3 separate regions of the Homo sapiens genome follow, and all the other regions are linked to region 1. Evidence: promoter capture Hi-C in 16 types of primary human blood cells and fetal thymus (Javierre and others, 2016). All regions are on one chromosome and are shown on one strand. Each heading gives the region's core, a stretch centred on a gene start or on the middle of the fragment in contact. The rest is flanking DNA. Distances are from core to core; before and after follow the strand shown. Region 1 holds the start of FRS2 (fibroblast growth factor receptor substrate 2). Region 2 has its middle 7.6 kb from the start of MIR1279. Region 3 overlaps CPSF6 (cleavage and polyadenylation specific factor 6).

Region 1 (3,166 bases), core at 563-3,062:
CAGAAGGACTGCTTGAGTCCAGGAGTTGGAGGCTGCAGTGAGCTATGATGGGGCCACTGTGCTGCAGCCTGGGCAGCAGAATGAGGCTGTCTCGAAAAGAAAGAAAAAAGAAAAGAAAGGAAGAGGAAAAAGAAAAGTTGTGCAGCTAATCTCTCCACAATTTTTTCCAAGGACTTTAAAAATCATCTACCCTTTGCCTGTTCAAAATCAACAACCTTGAAATAAATTTTCCTTTGCATAGGAAAAGCTCACTGAACTTGTCACTTCAGTCTATTTTTCCTGATTCATGATACCACCTCCCCTTTCAGGGGTGGGAGGAAAGAGAATGACATAAGTACCCAAAAAACTACAGAATAAACCCTAATCTACACACAAGATGAGAGTTGCAGATAGCGTCACTGGTTTCAAGAAGGTGATTTGTGAATACTTTACGCTGCAAAAACAGTGGCCATCTGCTAATAGCAATAATCTGCAGTAACTGCATTCCCTTATAAAAAGTTTTTAAATCACCATTTATTGTGGAAAACCCATATTTCCTACAAACCTTTCAGCAGTAAAGTTTACTACCTAAAATCTGTTCACTAAACCTACCTACATCACTTTCTCCCCTAGGAAATCCTCAGTTTATCCGAAGTAAACACTTCATGGAATAAGTTTAAACAAAACATCTCTGCCCACCTGTGTGAAACTCTGCATTGCAGCAACAATTTTAACAGTGTAAGGAATCTCTCAAGAAAATCCAAGAACAATTTTTCCTTAAGAAAAATGACAGTTCCAAATATGAAGGTAAACAAACTTTGGGAGAAAGGATATAACTGTCCAACTCTTTAAAATCAATTCGTACAGCCTCTGAATGAACTCATCATACAACTGTGACATCAGATAGCCAAAAGAATTAAGAGTGTAGATTAGAGAAAAGCATCTTTTTTTTTTTAGTATGTCTGCAAAAAAAGGCGGGGGAGGGGGTGTCTAAACTACTGATTTTCCTTAAGCAAGTTTTTTCTTTAAGTTTACTTCAACAACAGCTTCAGCAAGCTTTCAAGTGAGTAAAGATGATACAGAGCATGCTGGTGCCACAGCGACCTACGTATCCAGGACCGGTTCCGAGCCCAGTCCAAATCGATCCCGGACAACCCTGAAGCAAATCTGGATGAAAAGCCCTGCAAAAGATCCCTGGCATGTACAGGCAGCGCCCCACCCTGGAGGGAAAAGACGACACCCCTGGGACCCGGGTTAATTACTGACCCCAGGACAGACCCAGAGGAGGCGAAAAGTCGGGAACTGGAGCCCAAGATTGAGTCTGGTGTCCAGCTACTACCCCAGGCCGGACACAGAATACCAAACTAGGGAGCGGCGAGGTTTGGGGCAGCACACATGAGGGGGGTCGGACGGACGAACAGAGGCCCAGCCCATCCCCACTCTCGAGTCCCAACAGCAACAACAGCTCTGGGAACCCCCTCCCTGGCTCCGCCCCGCCCACCCCATGGACCCACAGCCAGCTCTTCCCGTCCCGCTGGCCCGGAGAAGTCCGCGGCGGTCGACAATCCCCTTCCCCGGACGCCGGCAGCCGAGCCCTCAGCCCGGATCCCGAAGCGGGCAGCGGGGGCACGAGAACGCCAGCTCCGACGCGGGCCCGCGGCCGTCCCAGTCCGTTTCCCTAGCCACTCACCGTCCGCCCAGGTGCTGAGAGGGAGCAGGGCGCGGGTCGGCGGGCGCGAACCCCCAGACTCCGACCCGCGCTGGAGCCCCTACTTGGAGCAGATCGAGTCTCAGCCGCTGTGCCTACAAGGCCTCTCTCCGGCCCGAATCTTGGAAAAGCACTTCCGGGGGAGCGGGGGAGGGAAGGGTTTTGGCACCGGAACTGCTCTCAGCCCGGAGCTGCCAGGGCCTCCAGGGCGGGGCGGGGCCTCTCTCGCCGGGCGCCCACAGATCAGCCTCTGGGCTCCTAACTAACCCTTTCCGCCCCGCGCCTCCTCGATTCCCCGGCTACTGCTGCACCCTTTGCTTTAACTGCTGTTTGAGTTGTTTTACTCCAGCCAGCTAATTTTACAAATAAGGAAACCGAGGCTCGGAGAATTAGGTGCAAGAATCCAGTGCCTACACCCGGCCTCCCGACTCCCTTCAGTGTACTCTACGCTCCAATCTGCCTCCTTTAAAAAATAATGATAATAGTTAACATTTATTGAACGCTTACTACGTGGTAGGCACTGTATTAAGTCCCTTCGGGTGCATTAACTTATTTAATCATCCCCAAACTCCTTGGGGTTGGTGCTATTATCTACGTCTTGCAGGGGAGAAAAACGGTCAAAGATACCAAACCCAATCTCACAAATGTTGGTTGATTTTAATTCACGTGTGTATAAATCTCATCTACCTATACCAAGATTTTGAAATTATTTAAAAACAGGGCTCAAACTATATTCCTATATTCTGTCATCACTGGTGACTTCAACAGAGGCGAGAGCTGGGGTTGGGGGGTTGGGGGGGTTGGGGTGGGGATCTGGAATCTTTTTGCTTGTCTCCTTTTATTTACTTTTATTTTTTCACCCTGGCAAGTTATAAAATCATCTCTGCATTGTAGGAATCCAAAATGATAATGCATGATAAACATTTCAGAATGTCTGGCATTGGATAAAAGTTAACGATTCTTATACCTCATCAGCAATAGGCAATAGAAAAGATTAGTTAAGGAAATAAGAAAGAGTAGGGGTTGGCCGGGCGCGGTGGCTCACGCCTGTAATCCCAGCACTTTGGGAGGCCGAGGCGGGTGGATCATGAGGTCAGGAGATCGAGACCATCCTGGCTAACAAGGTGAAACCCCGTCTCTACTAAAAATACAAAAAATTAGCCGGGCGCGGTGGCGGGCGCCTGTAGTCCCAGCTACTCGGGAGGCTGAGGCAGGAGAATGGCGTGAACCCGGGAAGCGGAGCTTGCAGTGAGCCGAGATTGCGCCACTGCAGTCCGCAGTCCGGCCTGGGCGACAGAGCGAGACTCCGTCTCAAAAAAAAAAAAAAAAAAAAAAAGAAAGAGTAGGGGTTTTTACAACTGGAAAAATACAGGTGCTTGTGAAGCTCCATGCAGTGATAATATGAGGACCCACAGAGTTACATACCAGACAGGGAAAAGGGATGGAAAGGAGGAGGGCGTGGGATTCCTCAGCCACAAA
Region 2 (3,286 bases), core at 320-2,819, 190 kb after region 1:
CCACTTTCTTACACCTACCATGAGAATTCTATTCAGAATGTTAGGATACTATAAATTTCCTTAAAAAAAAAAAAAAAAAAGTAAATGTATTCTCAGGCCAGGTGCAGTGGCTCACGCCTGCAATCCCAGCACTTTTGGGAGGCCGAGGAGGGTGGATCACTTGAGCCCAGGATCTGAGACCAGCCTGGGCAACATGGCAAAATCCGCCTCTACAAAAAATACAAAAATCAGCTGGGTGTGGTGGTGCACATCTGTAGTCCCCGCTATGCGGGAGGCTTGAGCCCAGGAGGTTGAGGCTATGATGAACCATGATCATGCCACTGCACGCCAGCCTGGGTGACAGAGTGAGACCCTACATAAAAATAAAAGTATTATCTAAGGATTCTCTAAGGTAACAATCTAAATACTAAATAACTTCCTTTTAAATGACTCTCATTGTGTGCACTAAGTAAACTTAGAAACATTTTCAGTATAAGAATGGAAATAAAAAGGGTTTGATTTGATTAGCTAACTCCACCATAATAGAATATATTAGGTTAATTCTGGTTTGATAGATTAGAAAAGGATCTTTCAGATCTTTCTTGGTTCCTAAATCAGATCTTCAGTTCCTGGGTCTGCCCTTTACTGGTTGTATTACTGAACTGTTTCCTCAATTATTAAAATGGAAATACCAAATCATGATTTACCGATTCATTTCTTATGTACGCCTATCTCTAGATGGAAGCACACAACTAACATTTAAATATATTTAAGCCACTCTAACAATCACGAAATAGTTAAAAATAAGATACCCATTTCCACCACTAAGATAGATTTTTAAAAGCACTAATTACTGAAAAGAATGTGGAGAAATACACATTTTCACATACAGCTTGGGTAAAAGTAAATCGGGACAATTTAATGTGTCAAAAACTCAAATATTCATACTCTGAATCAAGCACTCCAAGAAATTCATTACTGGAAAACAGATATTTGCACTAAGATTTACCTATAAGGAAATTCATTGCAGCATCCTTTATAATACTCAAAAACCTAGTGAAATAACCTGAACACCCAGTGGCAAGAACTGGTTAAAATTATGTTACAAGTTGAAACACCAGGTAGCCATTAAAAGTAGTTTAAAGGCACAATTTGTCAATCTTTAATGTGCATACAAATCACTGGGGATCTTGCTCAAATGTACATTTTGATTTCGCATGGTACATTCTGCACTTGTGACCAGTTCCCAGACCAGGTGATGCCAATGTTGATACCCTGTAGACCATACTTTCAGGAGCAAACTTAGAGCATTTAAGAAAATGTCAATATTCTAAAAGCCCTCAGTTGGCCCCACATAACCTAACTATACATTCTCTCTATAAAACTGACTTAGTCACACAAAATACATCATATCCAAGAACTCATGCTACTAGTAATGTTTAGAGTCAGCTGTTTATTTCTAAACTATGTCAATGGTAATTTTGCTTGTGATTTCATCTCAGTATTATGTAAACCAATGAAACATTTGAGTGCAAAAGAGAATTGGTTCAATGAAAACTAAGTTTACTTTGGTTTTTCTTTTTGAGACAGGGTCTCACTGAGTGTCTGTCGCACAACCTGGGGTGCAGTGGGACAATCTTCACTTGCTGCAGCCTCGACCTACCACGCTCAGGCGAGACTCCCGCATCATTCTCCTGAGTAGCTGGGACCACAAGCCTGTGCCACCACATCCAGCTAATTTTTGTATTTTTGTAGAGATGGGGTTTCACCATACTACCCAGGCTAGAACTCCTGAGCTCAAGCGACCCACCCGCCTTGGCCTCCCAAAGTGCTGGGATTACAGACATGAGCCACTATGCCCGGCAAGTTAAGTACTTTGTAAAGTCTCCATAAAAATGAGCTGCTTTAAAAATTGCCATTAACAATGAAATAACCACTTGTCCCCATTAGGATGACTACTATCAGATAAAAAGAAAAGCATAAGTATTGTTGAGGATGTACAGAAACTACAATCTTCATGCACTGCTGGTGAGAACGTAAAATGGTATAGTAGCTGTGGGAAAGTTTCATGATTCCCCAAAAAGTTAAACATAGAATTACCATTACCCAGCAATTTCACTCCTATATACCCAGAACTGAAAACAGGGACTTACAGATAGTTGTACACCTATGTTCATAGTAGCATTATTCACAATATTCAAAAGGTAGAAACAAGCTGTCCACTGACAGATGGATAAACATGTGGCATATATGTACATAAAATGGGATGATATTCAGCCACATATTGACACATGCTACAACATGGATGAATCTTAAAAACATACCAAGTGAAATAGCCAGGCGCAGTGGCTCACACCTGTAATCCCAGCACTTTGGGAGGCCGAGGCGGGCGGATCATGAGGTCAGGACATTGAGACCATCCTGGCTAACACGGTGAAACCCCATCTCTACTAAAAATATAAAAAATTAGCCTGGTGTGGTGGCGGGCACCTGTAGTCCCAGCTACTCGGGAGGCTGAGGCAGGAGAATGGCATGAATCCGGGAGGCGGAGCTTGCAGTGAGCCGAGATTGCACCACTGCACTCCAGCCTGGGCGACACAGCGAGACTCCGTCTCAAAAAAACAAAAAACATACTAAGTGAAATAAACCAGAGCCAAAACACAAATATTGTATGATTCTGTTTATATGATGTAGCCAGAATAGGCAAATTCAGAGACAGAAGTACAAGAGAGATGATCGGGGACTGGGGCTAGGGTGGGAATGGGGAGTTTGTTTGGGATGATGGAAAAGTTCTGGAAATGGATAGTGGTGATGGTTGCAAAACACTGTGAATGTATTTAATGCCACTGAATTGTATGCTTAAAAATTGTTAGAATGTCAACTTCTATATGCTTTACAATTTTAAACATGCTGACGCAGCTCTTAAAATAGTTGCTAACAAGACAGTGAGGCAGAACTACAATTCAAGATCCTTCATTCAAATATTAACATTTGCTTGCCACAAGCTGATGTAGACACTTGGGATTTAACAGAAACTACAATAAGATCCTTGCTTTCATGGGACTTTATATTTGAACGAACAAGCAAAATACATAGTGCTAGGTCATAAATGCATGGGAAGAGTAAAGAATAAAGCAATTAAGGGAGGTAGCAGTTTCCATTCAATAGAATGGTAAAAACAAACCTCACTGAGATTCTTCTCAGGCAGCTATCTCCAGCATTCCAGGCAGGGGAAATGGCCCACACAACGGCTCAGACACATGACGATACCTAACCTGTTTGAAAAACAAGGCCAGAGTGGCTAGAA
Region 3 (3,326 bases), core at 487-2,986, 210 kb after region 1:
AAACATGGAAATTCTGGTATGGTACATCAGTGATTAAGAAAAATGTCAACAATAGTTTGCACATTAGGAATTTGTAGTTTATGTCTGAATGTAATGAAACTCAAGTCATGATATATTTAGGTGTACCCATTACTAGAATGTAATGTTAGCTAACTCAAATAAGATTAACAATGGACTTTGTTTACTTGGTTGACTATGCTAGTTTTACTAAAACCAGTAGAAATTGTAATTAGTTAACTTTGGGCTTAAATTGGTTTAGAGGCCCCTTGATGGGCACATCCAATTTTGTAGATGAATTCAAGTTTCATTATCATGCCTTTACTAACAAGAAGCTTGCTGATAACTTATAAAGTCCAAAAAAATAGGTAACTTACAGAACCTGTACCCTTCTATAATGGAAATGACTGACATAGGTAAGCATTTCAACTAATAACCCAGTCACAATCCAGTTTAAGCAACTGATGGATATTGAGAATTTTTTCATTAAGATGGGATCAGATGTATTTAACTCAGGGGAAAAAAGTGCTACATCTTTAAAATTTAGTGTTTAGATTTACATAATACAACATTCAATTTTTACATTCAAAAACAATATCAATTTCAATAAGCTTAGTTTTAAAAGTAAAAGGTTTTTTTGCCTCATATTAAAAGAATGTTTTGAGATTTATATTAAATTTTGTAATACATGGAAAACTACAAATTAAAGTTTTGATATTCAATCTGCATATTCAAAATGCAAAGTATCAAAACCAGCCTTTTAACTCAAAAAGCCCTTAAAATTGTAAATAGTGTAGGAGCTTATATCTGTGTTCCATAAAAATAGCATGCTTATTTTCTAGGCATTTAAGGACTTCATTTGCGTATCTGTTATGGTTAAAGAAATTGGTATTCTGTCACAGAATTACATACACTTGATAAAACCTTTAATTTTGCCCATAACAATTTAAATACTAACAATTACCATGACTGAATTTTCAGTAAGTTTCCCATGATTACTGAAAATAATCACATAAAGAGTATTTACCTATGAGGGGTTTGTTTAGCCTTAATTTAATTTGAATATGCCAACCAACATATAAAGAAAAAATATTTTAATTTACAGAATAACCTTTGTGTCACATGCATAAGCCTTATAGTGCCCTCCCCCAGCTCTTCACATGAATAAATGCTATTAACAAATATAAAAAATAAAATTACATGTGAAAATGAAGCATAAACAGACAACTCTTCCCACTTCATGAAAAATGTACACAAGAAAGTTTTAAAATACAGAAAAAAAGACAATGATTATGATTTATGAATGAAACATCAAAGAAAATTATTTCAAGGTATTCTAAACTTGGGTATATGGCTTGACACAATTTAAAATTTTTAGATATAAATCAGTGCACCCTAAACCCATTTTAATTGATTAACTTTTACATCTTCTTTGCAAATTAAAGGATACTGTTTCTTTTAAAAACAAAAAGCAGATGTCAGGATAGTGTCTCTTCTAAAAAAAAAAATTTTTTTTTTAAAGGAAAATTCTCTTTGAATGTTGAGAAAACACCCTCCTGTATTATAAACTATTATTGTGTTAGATTTTCTCATAAATTTTTAGGGACAAATAAAACTAGTTCAAAAATAGTAACTTTCCATTTATTTTTAAAAATCCAAACACATAACATATATGTGAAATAACTCCCTGTGTTTTGTATTTTAAATTGCATGCAACCTATGTATGTGATACAAGAACCCCAATTTTTAGATTTTAGAAGTACACAATGAGTCCTCTTGATTATTTCCTTGCTTTGTTAAGACCATTAACTATTTGAAACCTGAAAGTGATAACTCAGCAATAAAATATTCATAAGATAAAGGGTCAAAATTTTTACCTGTCATTACTTACCTATAATTTGTTTCAGATGTTTCCAGAAGATTAAATTCACAAGTAGTTGGACCATTTAAAATGTAGGTATATACTGTATAAACAGTAGCCTTGGAGTTATAGTTACTGTTAAGAATACACACACATTTAACAGGGAACAAGGAATACCCACCTTCTAACGATGACGATATTCGCGCTCTCGGTCACGCTCTCGGTCACGGTCTCGGTCACGATCCCGGTGCCTCTCTCGTTCTCTGCTTCTCTCTCTGTAATAATCGTCATGACGGTCTCTACTACGGGATTTATGACGTCGACTCTTTTCTCGTGATCTACTATGGTCCCTCTCTCTTGATCGTTCACGTCTTCTAAAAGAAATTACTGGATTAATGCTCTCCATAATTAGATAGCCTAAAAATATTCAATTTTTTGATGTCTAAAAAAACTTAGGCAGCAAAAATTCTTTGTAAATCTGGTTTAAACTTACTATCCTGAGCTGCCAATAACGACTTACCAACTCACCAGGTAAGCATGAACCAGAAATTTCACTATTAAAAACATTAACAAAAAAATCAGCAACCAGACACATCACAGAAATGCATCACATCATCTATTAAACTAGTAGCCTAAAACAGATGTGTAGTATTTACTGAATGCACAAATAGAAAGGTAAAGGGAAAATTTCAAAGCACTCGTGTTTCAAGCTAAAGAACATCTACAATATGGTTTTTTTAGATATAAAAGTCATGAAATCACAACACACAATGGGGCTTAAATACATGAATATGACAACCTCTTAACATATGGTTCATGAGCAGCATCCAACACAAAGAAACCTTCTAATACGCATGTTATATTCAGGGGAGGAGAAGAGGCATGGGAGAGGGCTAACAATTATGACCAGTAGCAAGAATAGATATAGTATTCACATTGTATTTAATAAGTAGAAATGTTTCATGAACTGCGATTTTTTAAAAACAAATAATTTAACCAAAGCTTACTACCCAAAAGACTTCTATAAATTCTGCTAAATTCACAGTAAGGAAATAATAACTGTCTACGAAATAATATTTATGTCTTGTATTTCTGCACCAGACAGCTAAGCTTAGCAAACATTAGGTGCTAAAATCCTTGATCAAGGCCTAAGTTATTACTTTGTTTTTTCAAGATAGGGTCTCTCTCTCTCTCTCTGTCACCCAGGCTGGAGTGCAGGGACATGATCACAGTTCATTTCATCCTCGACCTCTGAGGCTCAAGCAACCCTCCCACCACAGCCTCCCAAGTAGCTGGGACTATAGGCATGCACCACCAGGCCCAGATATTTTTAAAATTTTTTTGTAGAAAAACTCCTTATGTGGCCAAGGCTGGTCTCAAACTCCTGGGGCTCACGTGATCCTCCTGCCTTGGTCTCCCAAAGTGTTGGGATTAAAAAATTATTACTTTGGACTTCAAAACTTAAAAA

What was found. Contacts are between HindIII fragments. The CHiCAGO score rates a contact against its expected background, and 5 or more counts as called.
Region 2: a contact is called between a fragment that was not itself captured here and the fragment with the promoter of FRS2 in region 1, in 2 of 17 cell types (neutrophils and M2 macrophages). The highest score is 5.8, in neutrophils.
Region 3: a fragment that was not itself captured here is called in contact with the fragment with the promoter of FRS2 in region 1 in 3 of 17 cell types (non-activated CD4 T cells, activated CD4 T cells and naive CD4 T cells); the score reaches 5.9 in non-activated CD4 T cells.

Annotation. Positions count from the first base shown.
Region 1 is chr12:69,469,034-69,472,199 of GRCh38, reverse strand. It overlaps FRS2 (fibroblast growth factor receptor substrate 2), which reads right to left and starts at 1,812. Exons shown (of 9, transcript NM_001278356.2): 1 at 1,670-1,812. RefSeq lists enhancers at 1,419-1,468, 1,640-2,141. The HindIII fragment of the contact is 4,260 bases long and covers 1,038-3,166 here.
Region 2 is chr12:69,279,192-69,282,477 of GRCh38, reverse strand. No RefSeq gene overlaps it. Among named protein-coding and RNA genes, the nearest start is that of MIR1279, 7.6 kb to the right of the region's middle. The HindIII fragment of the contact is 7,876 bases long and covers 1-3,286 here.
Region 3 is chr12:69,261,276-69,264,601 of GRCh38, reverse strand. CPSF6 (cleavage and polyadenylation specific factor 6) reads right to left here. Exons shown (of 10, transcript NM_007007.3): 9 at 2,040-2,229. The coding sequence ends at 2,043. Among named protein-coding and RNA genes, the nearest start is that of MIR1279, 10 kb to the left of the region's middle. The HindIII fragment of the contact is 2,252 bases long and covers 611-2,862 here.